Linked DNA regions of Homo sapiens: region 2 is linked to region 1. The links are contacts of gene promoters, found by promoter capture Hi-C in human tissues and cell types (Jung and others, 2019). All regions are on one chromosome and are shown on one strand. The core of a region is centred on a gene start or on the middle of the fragment in contact, and the rest is flanking DNA. Distances in the headings are between cores, read along the strand shown. Region 1 holds the start of EVX1 (even-skipped homeobox 1). Region 2 has its middle 77 kb from the start of EVX1-AS.

Region 1 (6,891 bases), core at 3,009-5,508:
CCCAGAAGATGCTGTGTAGTCGAGGCTCCAGGTCCCATGCCAAGGGGCTGGATTCTCCCTGGTAGTAAATCATCTCTCACTCTCTCCTCCAAATGACTGGTATGTTGCCATCCACCAGCCCCTTGTCATGCCTTGGAAAAGCTGGCAAAGATTAATCTCTACCTGCTCTGCATACACAGCATTTTGTTCAGAGAGACAGCAATTTCCCTTTCCAGTGCTTGGGCCTTGGCTGGGGAGAGGGGGCCCGGTGAGAAGGGAGTGTGAGGTGGAGGGTGAGGGGCCGAGGGGCCGAGGGACTGGATATTGGTTGCTGTTGCTGCTAAGTTTTGTTTAGCTTTGGAGCTACAGCCTCGACCCTGGTGGGGGGCGGTGGGTCCGGAGGCTGCCCCGGAGGAAGGTCTCTCAAGCTCTGCTTCCCTATCCCCACTCCTGCTCCCCAAACGCGCCAGCCACCGCCACTTCCTAGGCTTTCCAATTCTTGCGGCCGGATCCCGCTGGTCCTTTTCCGCCCTCTCCTTTCCCCCTTGGCGTCCTAGGGGCGAGGAGCGAGGAGCGAGGAGCGAGGCTGGCTGAGTCCCGGGGCCGGGGGGTGACCCCACGGGCGTCATGGAGCCGGCAGCCAGCCGGCGGCCCCTTATCTAGTGAGGGGCACCTCCTCCCTCTGGTCCAGCGCGACGGAGGAGGCCTTGCTGAGCACCGAGGGCGCGAAGGTGAGGAAGGAGTCCGAGCGGGAGGTGGAGGCACAGGTGAAGTCCGAGGCGGCGGCAGCCCGGGGCGCCAGCCCGTTGGCCGGGCCGCTGTGACAGGCGAGGCAGGAGCAGGGGCCGCCGGCAGAGGCGCCCAGTCCGTGCGCGGGCCCGGGGTAGAGCGGCGGGTGGCGGAAGGCGCACAGCAGTTCGGGCCGCGGGTAGGGCTGCGACAGCACGCGGAACGTGTCGAGCGGGCGCAGCGAGCCGCTGAAGGGCGAGGCGGCGGCGGAGGCGGCGGATGCGGCGCCCAGGCCCACCGGCGAGTAGTAGGGCAGGGGCAGGTGCGATGGGAAGGGGTAGGGCAGGCCGCCCGCGGCCGCCGCATGGCTCATCATGTAAGTGTAGAAGGCGGGGTCCGCCGGGTGCGGCCACGTCATGGCCAGGCGCTGCCGCTTGTCCTTCATGCGCCGGTTCTGGAACCACACCTGGGGAGAGGAGCGGAGCAGGTTCAGTAGCTGGACTTGGCCCGATGCTCAGAGGCCAGTAGTCTGGTCCCGCTCCGGGGACAGTGTTCGCAGGGCAGGAACAGCCAAAGCAGACACCAGCCGGGTAGAGACCGACCCCACCACCACCACCTGGAGCTGGAATCCCTCCGAGAGAGGTTTGGGGAGTGACTCCAGCCCGCTCCCTCCTTCCTTCTGCCCAGGTGGCCAGGCCCCCGGGGTGCCAGAGGCCAGTGTGTGTATGGGAGGAGCAGTGAAAGGACATGGACTCAATTGGTCTGCGGCCGCAGAGAGCGTGTCCCCAGAAACTTCCTTGTCACCCGCACAGGCACTCTATCCCCTTCCCCCACGCCCACCCCTTGTCTATTTAACCAGGAAAGGGACAGAGTCAGCCACATGGCAGCAATGCCTGCCTAGGAGCTGTCACGAGGGTCAATCTGCACGCGCCGGGCAGGGAGACCCCAGGCCCAGATTCCTGGCCTGCGTTTCAGGGAGTTGGCAGTTGGCATTTACTTCCCGCTAAATAGGTGCACACCCGCCTCCCCAGCCTGGACCCCGCATACCTTGATGGTGGTTTCCGGCAGGTTTAGGGCGGCCGCCAGCTCACATCTCCGCGGCCTGGATACGTAGTTCTCCCGGTAGAATTCCTTCTCCAGCCGCGCAATCTGCTCTCGGGTGAAGGCGGTGCGGTAACGACGCATCTGGTCACTGGCGCTGCACGCCAGGGTGCCTTGCGAGCCGCCCCCACCACTGCCGCCGTTGCTCTTGGGGGTCTCGCTCCCTCCGTTCGGACTGCCGACCAGCGCCTCGGAGCCGGACCCTGCACAGCGAGTCCAGAGCACAGGCGTGTACAGACACAGACACACAAACGCCATTGAAGTGGGGCTGTAGGCCTAAGGTGGGAGGGTGATTTGGGAAGGGACACCCTGTCAGCCACCTCAGTAACTGTTTCTGCTAGGGTACTGCGGCCTCTGGGGAACCCAAGAAGGGAAAATAAGGGCCTGCCCTTGATTGGGTAGGTAGAGGTCTTTGGGGAGGCCTTCCCTTCCTCTAAGGCATCCTGGGTACAGGGGTTCCCAGCCGCCCTTCCCACCTGCCCTGGAGCATAGGTGAGATTTCTGCCTCCCGTTGGCAGGGCGTGCACTTCTGACAGGCACATGAGTTGAGATGCACCTTTGTGCTAGAGGGTTGTAAACTCTGGGTCAAGTGCATTGTAGTATGCTGGGCATTCAGAGAGTTTCCTTGCTCTTATGTGTGACGGGCTGCCAGAACAGGTGTGGGAATGTGTACTAGGTTCCGTGTATTGCAGGGCTGGAGTGAGAATGCATGTTGAGTATCTTATTTATTACCTTAGTATATGTGAGTGGAGTCCAGGTTGTTCTGAGGGTTATGGGAAGGAGGCTGGGTGAAATCGGTGATAAGATAGTAAGGGGTAGGTGCAGGTATTCAACAAGGCGTTGGCTGCCAAGACCAGGGGGTGGTCTTTCTCCCCCCCGCCCCCAGGCTCTTTCCACCCACTCCTACAGTTCTGTGGAGGAGTGTCTGCTGGTGGGCTCCCCTCTCCTCCCCCCCACCAACCCGCGCCCAGTTTTCTACCCCCTTCTGGGGAGGTGATTGTTGGCACAGAGGGAAACTCCCTTCCGGGCTATCCACCCCTTTCCCATTAGCCTTTGGTGGGGAGGGGTTCTCCAGTTAAACCAGCCCCCCTTTGGGCCTACCTCTGAGAAGGGTGGGGCTCCAGCCCCCTGCAGCTCCTTTTCCTTTGGGTGGAGAAGTGGGACTAGGAAGGAAAGGGGAAGGGGGGAGGACCCGATCTCTGCCTTTTCAAATGCAACCGGAGACCAAAGGCAATTAGACCATTGGGACCATTTCCGACCTGGCGCCGCGAAGCCCGGGAAGTGACAAGGTAATTTGGACCTCTGACCGACGTGCAAACTGGTCGGAGGGCTGCAGCACCCGGGCTGCCCAAGTGGGCCGCAATTTTACGGTCCTTTATGGACTCCTGGCTTCCGCGCCTCCATGCCTCTTACACCCTGCCAGCCACAAACTGCCCGGATCGGCGTTTGATCTTGCCCTCGCCTGGGGAAAGTGTCTTCCCCGAGCAATTGAAGCATTCCCCGAGCAGTTGAAACACTGGGTGCTTGGGGTGAGCTTCGAATCCCCCAAGTCCAGGACTTGCATCCGCCCCCTCAGCACCCCGCACTCAAGGCACTGCTGTCACCCTCAGTCCCGCCAATGCCAGAACACAGTAGGAGACCCCCGCCAGAACGCAGATAGCAGAGAGAGTTGCTCAGGTGGGTCCCCCCAGCCATCCTGCCCTAGGGGAAGGGAGTGTCTTCCTCCTGGCCTGCGCCGAAGTGAAGGGTGGGCGCAGTGGGAGGCCCGGGGAGCGGAGGGGCACGGTGGCTACCTTTGCTGTGCTGGTACTCGGCGTTCCCGGTGGCGCAGTCCGGGGTGCAGCTCACCTCGATTTCTTCATAGAAATCCGACTCGGTGTCCGAGCTACTGGGTTGCCCCTGTCCGGAGAGGCTGTCGACTGAGGGGGCCGGGGGTCCTGGGCCGAGCATGGCCGCCCCAGCTACCTGGGGCTCGGCGCCCGGCCCCGCCGCGCTGCCTGCGAGTCCATCTACCGGCTCCTCCTCCGGGCCTCCCCCGCCGCGCTCCCGGGTGGCCGGAGGGACGGCCCGAGGGCTCAGGCAACCACGGGGCACCATTTTCTCGGGCGGCTCCGGCAGCGGGCTGCCCACGGCTTCGGACAAATTTGAGACTCTCTTGCCAACCAGAGTGCCAAGCTGACCCCCATCCAGAAACACAACCATGTCCTTTCGGCTCTCCATCCCGGGGCTCTCCGGTGGGGGAGGGGAAAGCCCCAAGTGAGTTCCTAACCCCGGCTCCCTGGGTCTCCAGCGGCCGGACGGATCTTGGTTGCAAGAGGGAGAAAGAAAGGCCGGGTGCCTGGGAGGGCGCGGAGCTGCTGGAGCGCGGTCTGGACCGCGACCGCGGCGGTGGCGGTGGGAGCTAGGGTCACCTTGTGAAGCGAGCGCTCCTCTGTGCCGCACCGCCTCTGGGAGGAAGCCCCATTGCCCTCTTCTTTCTAAGCTGTCATCCTCCTGCTGCAATCGTCATTACAGTACCGCTGGTGACGCCACTCGGCGAGCGCAAGTGGATAAATAGAAACGTCTGCCACAGCGAAGATGAAAGGAAACCCGCAGCTAATGGCTCGGCAGTGATGCGCCAGGTGTGGGCCTCGCTCGATTGGGGAGGAGAGTGTGAAAACAGACAGAGAGACACACACACTGAGAGAGGGAGACACCCAGGCAGAGGGGATGCAAATGGAATTCCGCAGAAAGAAAAGAGAGCTTAACGCGCGCGGCGAGTTCCGCAGGGGCAGCGGGACTCGGTAATTAAATAAGCTTTTGATTTTTTCTTTTATTGTTGTTTTGACTTTTGTTTTCTTAACTTGGTGCCTTGATCTAACACCGATGAAAGAATCCATAACTGCATTTTAGAAGTGTGAAGCCCGGCTTACAAGCCTCAATTCTGTCGGCATTATTACAACTGTCTGCCCCTGGCAGCTAACCTCAAACTGGCTGAAAAGTCTTTTTACAAGCTACGGAAAAATGTATTCCCCCGCCCCAAGTTGACTGGAGAGCTTGAGGCTGGGCCATCTTTTCCTCTTTTCTCCTCCCTCTCCCTACCCACCTCTGTCTCCTTACTCCTGCGAACCAAACTTTGCTATTTTTCTTCCCTAAGGGGCAAGAAATAAATACCTTATTATTATTTTTTAATTTAAAGACCCGCCTTGGCTTCTGTAAGAGTGTGTGCTGATTTCTTTTAAATACCTCCTTCCCATCTAGATGGCCTTAAGTTTTCCACAGCCTGGCTTCATCTTGAGATGGCTATTCGTACAAGAAGTCGCTTTCCCGTTTGCCTGGACCTCGCCTGCACTCCAGGTATGTTGGGTGGGGAGAGTTTCTAAGAGTTGTCTTTTTTTTTCCCTTGCCCATATTTTAAAGTATTCGTTCAGAATCAGCGAAGTCTCCTGGAAAGAGGTTTTTCGAATGAAGAGGCGCCAGGAATGCGGCCCCTGCTGTGGCAGTACTGGAGGCCCCTACTTGGGAGAAGGCAGTAGCTTTCACCGCGCTATTTTGGGCAGGGGTTCAGCCTCCCCGAGTACAAAAAGGTTGGGGTTCATAGAGGTTTGACTCATAAGGTCCTCTCCCAAGTCCCTGCCTAGGGGCAGTGGTACCTGTCTCCAAAAGTGGATGGCGTTTGAGGTAGAAGAGAGTGAAGTCGCTGAAAATGCCCTAAAACAGCAAGTAAGTAGGGACTCTGATGAAGGGCTGGAGGTGGGGGCAGGGGTTGTGGAACTTAATATCTGGAAGCTGCCATAGGCCTCTCTTGGCTCCTCTCCCAGGGAAGAAGCTGGTATAAAACTCCTTCAAACTGACCCTTTTTGAGCTCCAAGCAAGTGTGCTGGGGCCAGGTGGGTGGGCTGAGTCTATCCCCACATTGCTGAGAGCAGGAGGTGGGCACCTTCTATGCTCAACCCCCCTTTCTCCGCCTCCTCCCGAAGAGCTTCTAGCCCTAGGCAGCCAGCTGCAAAGGGCAGCCCAGCACCTCCCTCCTTTCTGTGTCCCTAGCAAAGCCCCAGCTTTTACAGGTAAGTCCTCTTCCGTGACCTTTTTATCTGTTATCTCCTACTTTTCTCTCCTCCTTTTTCTCTTTCTGTATTCTTCTCCTTCTTTGCTTCTCTCCTCCATCTTCCTATCCATAGGGTTAAGGAAGGTAGAGGAAGTAAGGGGTCCAAAGAAAGACAAAGTTTCCTCTTCACTCCGGCTTTCCACTTCTCTTTCAGTCTAAGACGATGTTCATTAATCTTGCCTGGGGGCGGAGGCAGCGGGATCCGGAAGGTAGTGTCCACATAGATATTTCTACTCCTTGGGACTCCTGAAGCCACTATATGCTGAGCACTGCTAGCCCCAAAATCCAGGGAAATGTTTTAGAGGTGAGAGGATCAATTGGGAGTGAGGGGAGTCAAATCCTAGAACCTTTTCCTGCCTTGGAGAGCTGTCCAGGTATTCTATCTTTCTCTGTCCTCCCTACCAGCAGCCACAGCCTGAGGGAGCACCTGGCTTGCTCTCTTTCCTGTCAATGGCAAGCCCCCTGGGCATCTGTCTTAGAGCTTCCAAGGTTGCCTACTCTCTATAGGGCCCTCCAGCACTGGGCCTTTGAGGTGCCCACCCTCCTTTCCTCCTTGAGCGCTTAACCTTCTCGTGAGTAGCCTGCTGCCCCCATCTCCTGGGGGCTGGGTCCTCAGAGGGACTCCTGGCTCCCCACCCCGCCCCCAGCTCTGCATTCAATGGGAATCCTCTGTTTGATCCGCTTTTCTTCTGGGTGAGATGAAAGCCGAGTAGGAGTGAGAGATCAAGGAGTGCCACTTAGTCTGCTTCCTGGGTCGGGCCCTACGGAGCAGGGCTTACATCCCGCGGAGAGGGCTGGATGGAGCTGAGGACCGGCTTTTCAGAGGGAGGTTGCCTCCCTTGGGCTCCAGATCTGAAGCTTCAGGGACACATCCCCTCAGCCCAAAGCCTTCCCCAGCCCTCTCCCGACTTCTGCCCCGCTCTTTCAAAGCTGACTGGCCAGTCTTAGGAGCCTAGGGAACCACACCCACCCCCGCCCCTTTCCACCGGCGCATT
Region 2 (7,089 bases), core at 1,600-4,099, 82 kb before region 1:
GGAGGCTGAGGCAGGAAAATTGCTTGAACCCAGGAGGCAGGGGTTGCAGTGAGCTGAGATCGTGCCACTGCACTCCAACCTGGGCAAGAGAGCGGGACTCCATCTCAAAAAAACAAAACAAAACCAAAAAAACAATGTCTTTGTGAGAGCTGAGGTACAGGCAGTTGGAAGCCAGCTGTGTGGGCTAGATCTGCAGATATTGGCCAGGGTAGAAATGAGTTTGGGCCTCCTGGTATATTTGGAGGCTTTCAATGGTTGCAGGTGAAAATGAATTATGAAATTCTCTGAGTAAATTTCATGAAGTATATCTGGTAAATTACCAATAAAACTTAACTGAGTTCATCTCATATCTGGAGACTTTTAAAGCTGCTATCATAAAACTCTACTGATGAAGGACTTTCTTATTGATTGCAATCATTATTGGCTCAGCCCACCCAACAAAAAAATAAATATGCACTTCAACCCTTGAGAAAACATATTTCAGAACCCCCCCAATTTTATGAGACAGGCCTAAGAGATGGAAGTATTTATTCAAAGTCCCACTGTGATTTTTCAGGAGGCCTGCTTCAATCAGGAAGAGCTCTGCAATCCAGAAAACTCCAGAGCAGCAGTGATTCATGCAACCTAGCCATAGTCATGTGGTCTGATTAAAAAGATGCTCCCAGGCCAGGCACAGTGGCTCATGCCTGTAATCCCAGCATTTTGGGAGGCTGAGGTGGGTGGATCACCTGAGGTCAGGAGTTCGAGACCAGCCTGGCCAAAATGGCAAAACCCTGTCTCTACTAAAAGTACAAAATTAGCCCAGTGTGGTGGCGCATGTCTATAATCCCAGCTACTTGGGAGGCTACTGCTTGAACCTGAGAGGCAGAGGTTGCAGTGAGCCGAAATGGTGCCATTTTGCACTCCAGCTGGACGACAGAGTGAGACTCCGTCTCAAAAAAAAAAAAAAGCTCTCAAACCCAAGTAGCCTAATTTGCTATTTTATACTGTATTAACATTGCACATCTATTAACTCGGCATACCAACTATTGATCTGAAAATAAAATTAGTCCTTGCTCTCACATAACAAAGAAGAATTGCAGTTTATAATGAAAGAAATGCTCATACTTATTTGCATAATAGAAATCATTATGTTTTCTTACTACAAAGGCACCTAATTAGCAAAGATTTTCATTTTCCACTGATGTCATGAGGGGCCAGTCACTATTCTAAGCATATAGCTATCCCTTAGGTACATGAAAATTTGCATCTTGCAAATTCCTTTTGAGATAATACCTTAGAATGAAGTAGAATGCAGATTTGGCATGAGATTTTGATGGAGAGAGGATAGAGAGGTCTTTTAAGTAGTGATGGTGTTCTTCAGGAACCAACCAGGGAATTTTTCAGTCTCCCTAGATCTACTCCACAATTTTTCACTCTGCCTAGATAAAAACCTTCTTAGAATTCTCAGCATAATAAATAGGATATTTTATATTTTTTCCTACTGCTCTGGAGGTTCTCATAGCACATCAAAATTTTAAGATATACTAAATATAATCCCAGAAATTATAGTATAATTAGATTTATAAATACAATAAATTTGAATTAACTGGGAACATTCAATACTGGTAAAGATGTGGCAAAATATGTACTCTCATACATCGCTGATTGCATGGTAAATTGGTACCACCCATTTGAAAAACAATACAGTAACTTAATAAATGTTAAATATTTTTGACCCAAAGATCCTCCTTCTGGAACTCAATCCTATTATATCAGACCAAAACTGGAGGAAAAGGCTATGTGTGAAGATGATCTTTAAGGTACCATTTCTGGAAGTAAAAACTGAAAATGACCTAAGTGTTAAATAATTAGGGCATTCCTTTACTTATAAGCAAAAAGTTCAAATGCTTACTTGGCAACAGATAGCAGATGTCAGAAGGACCCTTTTACTTCATCCATTATGATTGTCTAAAATATTACCAAATAGGGTTAGATGCATGGTATCCAGGAGTTTCCTATTCAAATGCAATTCTTTAAAAAGAAAAGAAAAGAAAAGAAAAGAAAAACCTAAAACCAAAAAGACCTAAAAGAGCAAGATGGGAAACATAAGTCCAGCTTTATCAATAATTACATTAAATGTTAATGAATGGCTATATATATCAAAACATCATGTTGTATACCTTAAATTTTATACAATATAAAAGGTTAATGAACTAAACACTCCATTTAAAAGATATTATCAGAATTGATCTTTTTTTTTTTCTTGAGATGGAGTTTCACTCTTGTTACCCAGGCTGGAGTGCAATGCCGTGATCTCGGGTCACTGCAACCTCCACGTCCCCATTCAAGCAATTCTCCTGCCTTAGCCTCCCAAGTAGCTGGGATTACAGGTGTGCACCACCACACCCAGCTAATTTTTGTATTTTTAGTAGAGATGGGGTTTCACCATGTTGGCCAGGCTGGTCTCGAACTCCTGACCTCAAATGATCCACCCGCCTTGGCCTCCCAAAGTACTGGGATTATAGGCCTAAGCCACCAAGCCCGGCCTAGATTTGATTTTTAAACAAAAACAACTCAATGTCAACTGTATGCTGTTTTCAGGAAACACACTTCAAACATAAGGCCTTAGAGATACTGAAAGTAAAAGGATGGAAAAACATCGTTATGCAAATTCTAATAATAAGAAAGCTGGTGTGGCTTTATTATTAGACAAAATAGACTTCAAGACAAGAAATATTATCAGAGATAAAGAGAAACATTTTATAATGATAACAGAGTTAGTTCATCAGAAAGACCTTACAATCCTAAATTTGTATATGCCTACTCACATAAACTTTAAAATATATAAAGCAAAATGAATAGAACTAAAGGAGAAATGAATAAAGCCACAATCACGGGTGGATAATAGACTTTGAGTCATAACAGATCACTGATAGTTTAGCTCGTAATCATCTCTGGATTGGCTAATAACATAGCCCAGAAAGAATGGGACACACACACACACAAATCTCCTTTGATTCTGGGAGAAGGTGAAGGACAGGCCTCAGATTTATATGGCAGTGAGAAATTGGTGGAAGTTGGGCCAACAGGTTAGTTCTAGGGCCATATGGGAGAGAAAGTCCAAAAGGAGAACTGATGACAACAAAGGGGTGGGGGGAGGTTTGAATGGAATTAGGAAGAGTATGACCTCAGTTTCAATACCCATTTCAACACTTATTCAGTAATCCTCAACCAGTCACTAAACTTCTAATATTTTGGCATTTTAAAAAATGGAGGAAATGATTTCTGCCTTATGTGTGGATATGGGAGTTAAACACATAATACATGTGAAGAGTGCTGGCAATCCAATATCTCCCCTCTTTCACACTGTTTCCTGATAGGGACCCACATACTCAAGATTTCTGCAAATAACCAGGAAATGAATTGGACAGGGATCCCAAGATCTAAATCACCGTAGAAGAAGGAAAAATAACTTACCTAGTCCCAACAAGGTATGGAGAACCCCAAAACAGCCCAGTCTCTAGGAGGCCTGGCTACTCTTTCCTTTGGCAAAGTGAAAACAGCTCCATGATAGTTCTTAGTTTCCTTCAATAGAACCTGTTCTAGTGTTCTCCCTACGGATCTACATGCATGTGCTGTCTCAAGGAATTAAAACCGTCTCAAGAAATTTACTAGAATTTTAATTACCCAGACCCTTTGGCGGCCATCAGTTCATTGACTGACCTCCAGACAAGACCTCATATAAAATTTCCCTCAAAGATGGATCTCTTTCTTCAAAACTTGCAGAGAAAGCTAAATTCTTCCCTCCTTCCTTGAAAGTACATTTCAGTGTCTCCTTTTCACAGGCAGAAAGTTCTTCCTGCCTTACCTAAATAGCTATGAAACAAGGCAGAGTCCTATAAAGCTGAAACAGAGTTACAATGCACTGTAGAGGCTGAGGGGAGGAAGAGCCTTTACAGGCTTTGGGAAACAGGGACAAATTATAAAGCGGCATTTATTCCTGGCCTTATAGAATGGGCAGGGTTTTGGCCCATGTGAGGAGGGGATTGCAAATGGATCAAAAGCTGGATAGGGAATGCAGAGCCTGCTGGAGAAGGACAGATGATGGTCAGGGCCATGGGGAACAGGAGGAAGGAGAGAAGGAAAGGTGACGCCATATTGTGGAGGACCCCACACACCAGAAAGAAAACTGTTGGCTTTATTTGGTAGGTAATGTGGCGCGATGTGGCGAGAGGGGGTTTGCAGAAATAGGTGGTGAGAGCTGAATTTCAGGGAGATTGATGTAGCAGAGAGATTCGAAAGGTGGAAGAAAGAAGTGGGGAGAGAGGTGAAAGGTCAGTTAGGAAGTCCTTTCAACCATTCAGAAAAGAGTTCCTGAGAGGCTGAATATTGGTGAAAATGCTGGAAACGAAGGTGAGAACCAGACTGAGGCCTTGAGCACAGAAAGCCTCCTAATTCATCTGTATGGACAGGGCCTGACTCTCAGTAACTATTTCTTGAATCCGAGTTGCTGTGCAGCTATGAGATTGTGGCTAAAAAGAGGTGAGGAGGAAAGAGGAATGAAAGGGGATAATGTAAAAAAGAAAGAGCGAATGTACAGTTGTCCCTGGGTATCCACATGGTATTAGTTCCAAGACCCAACTCCCCCACATACCAAAATCCATGGATGCTCAAGTCCCTGATATAAAATGGCATAGTATTTGCCTTTAACCTACGCACATCCTCTCTTATACTTTAAATCATCTCTAATTACTTATAATACCTAATACAATGTAAATGCTGTGTAAATAATTATTATACTGTATTGGGTTTTTATTTGTATTATTTTTTATTGTTGTATTGCTATTTTTTATTGTTTTTTTTTTTTTTCAAATATTTTTTTCTCTGTGGTTGGTTAAATCCTTGGCCACAGAACCCATGGACAGGGAAGACTGACTGTAATAGATAGTAATTAAATAGAGAGAGCTCTATCTCAAGACTCATTTCAACAGTTTCTGACTCAAGGCTCTTACAATCACTACTAGTTAAATAATTCTAAGCACGTGTCCAATTGATAGTGGGTCACATTCTATCTTTGCGCCTGAGGGACATTGCATTTACTTGATCTTATTATCCCAAAGAGCTGCCATACAGACCAAATTAAAGGAAACCTAGAGAAGTGTATTTTAAGCATATTGTCACAATGAACTCACTTTGTTGAGGATCTATATGTACCAAGCATTGTGTTAAACACTTTACGTGAATTATCTTATTTAATTTTTAACTACCCTAAAAGTAGATGCAACTATTCTCTTTTAACAGATTAAGAAACGGAGGTTTAGTTGAGTCACAAAGCCGGGATTTGAGGACAGGCAGTTTGATTCCAGAGCATGGACTATCTTCCCTAGCACTCCTTCTAAGCAAGAAAATGCACCACAACTGGAGCACTCCTCTGCCATTTATTTACAAACAAATGTCATGTCGTCAGAGAAGTCTTTTCTATGAGTGGTTGTTCCAAGTCAGAGCTTCCCCTTCAGACATTCTGCTCTAAGAAGGTGTAAAAGCACCCTTTCCTTCTGAAGGAGGGTTTGGTGGGAGAGCGCCAGCCTGCCATACCAGGAAGTACGTATTGGTGTGTCAATTTGGGTTTTTGTTGCAAGCAACAGAAGTGAATTAACAATGTTAACAAGGGGATAAAATAATTTAATGGGAGAAAAATTAGAAAAGCTGAAGGATTAGGACTGGAGTAGCTCCAGGCTCTAAGGGCAGTCTCTTCAGGGGGCCTCTGCCTAGGGGAATCAATAACCACCATCTTGGTTTTACAGACTCCACTCGAGAGAACACCTGATTGGCCAGGCTTGGGTCTTGTGGCCATCACTTAACTAGGGGATGGCAGGGCAGTCTCACCAAAAGGGCCCACCCATACGGAAGAGGGAATTCCCCCAAAGAGAAGCTGGTTCTGTTACCAGAAAAGAGGGGAATGAATGCTGGGCAGACAAAAACAGCAGGTGCCCATGACCTTGTGGGAAGTTTCACACATTTGAGCTGCAGCTGTGCCCAGGTGTATGCAAAAGCATCATCCTGATCCTTGTGGTACTACATGAAGAGTTGAAAAAGTGACTCTCCATGCTGCACTAGCAGCTCTAGATTTAGTTAAAGTCATCTATTACAGTGTCATTAGGCAAGTAGCACATGAAATCAACTAGGAACATTTCATTTTAAACTTTGCTGATTTTTCAAATTTGCTTTGCATTCTTGGTAATGATTTCTTGCTCCAGTTTTATGCCTTCTCAGATAAAGTGCCATCATACATGATGTTGGCCCCATTAAACATGAAGTAAGCATTATTTATGATATAATTAGAGTTATGAAGCATTAAAAATAGGAAAGAAAATTATTTCCATAGACCTTTTTCTAAAACTTAGAAGCTGAGGCTTGTCAGACTTTTCCTTTTCTCATGCCAGGAGGTAGTGAAGACTGTTGGGGCAAAACTGGTCAATAGCTGAGGAGTCTCTTGCTTGCATTATCACTTGGAAGTGCTTGGATATTTCCCAGATTCCACCTTAGAAGGATAGGGTCCTGGTCAAACTCAACCTTCTTTGACAAGTTGAATAGCAGTGAGGCCTCTTATATGTGGGTTTTAACCTTATGGGGAGGTTAAATGGGTCAGCCATTGTAAACTGGAATTCAAGGATAACTCAGGATACAGACCAGGTGGCAGACGACTAAGAAAGACTCAACTAGATTAGTGCAGTACTGTACTTTATCAGCATGTGAAACATATATTAATGCTTATGTAAAACCAGTGTGTTTTCCTTCCTTCCTTTTTTTCTTTCTTTCTTTCTTTTTGTCTAACCCTCCTTTATACTGACAAACATGGTACAGAGATGCTTAGGGAAAAGTTGCATTGAAATAGAGGTGGGAACTCAAGAAAAAAGTAAAACAGAAAGAAAATGGTAAGCAAATTTTAGATTTCCAAACAATGAAGTCACTTTAAGAATCATAATAACAATGAGATAAAACTTAAGTAAATAAAAAATTTTAAGGTTCAAATAATAAAAGTGATTTACTTTGTTTTTATCTCATATTTTTCAACTCAATAATAGTTATCCTGAAATGATTATAGTA

The links. Contacts are between HindIII fragments. The study calls those that stand out against the background at their distance.
Region 2: a fragment that was not itself captured here is called in contact with the fragment with the promoter of EVX1 in region 1 in 3 of the 25 tissues and cell types used here (bladder, mesendoderm cells and thymus).

What each region holds. Positions count from the first base shown.
Region 1 is chr7:27,240,169-27,247,059 of GRCh38, reverse strand. EVX1 (even-skipped homeobox 1) reads right to left here and starts at 4,258. Exons shown (of 3, transcript NM_001989.5): 1 at 3,603-4,258; 2 at 1,756-2,012; 3 at 1-1,174. The coding sequence starts at 4,029. The coding sequence ends at 635. It overlaps EVX1-AS (EVX1 antisense RNA), which reads left to right. Exons shown (of 4, transcript NR_120507.1): 1 at 1-99; 2 at 5,050-5,145; 3 at 5,419-5,511; 4 at 5,610-5,631. RefSeq lists enhancers at 623-1,232, 1,233-1,841, 3,763-4,640. The HindIII fragment of the contact is 9,702 bases long and covers 1-5,680 here.
Region 2 is chr7:27,320,529-27,327,617 of GRCh38, reverse strand. No RefSeq gene overlaps it. Among named protein-coding and RNA genes, the nearest start is that of EVX1-AS, 77 kb to the right of the region's middle. RefSeq lists an enhancer at 7,012-7,089. The HindIII fragment of the contact is 7,067 bases long and covers 1-6,382 here.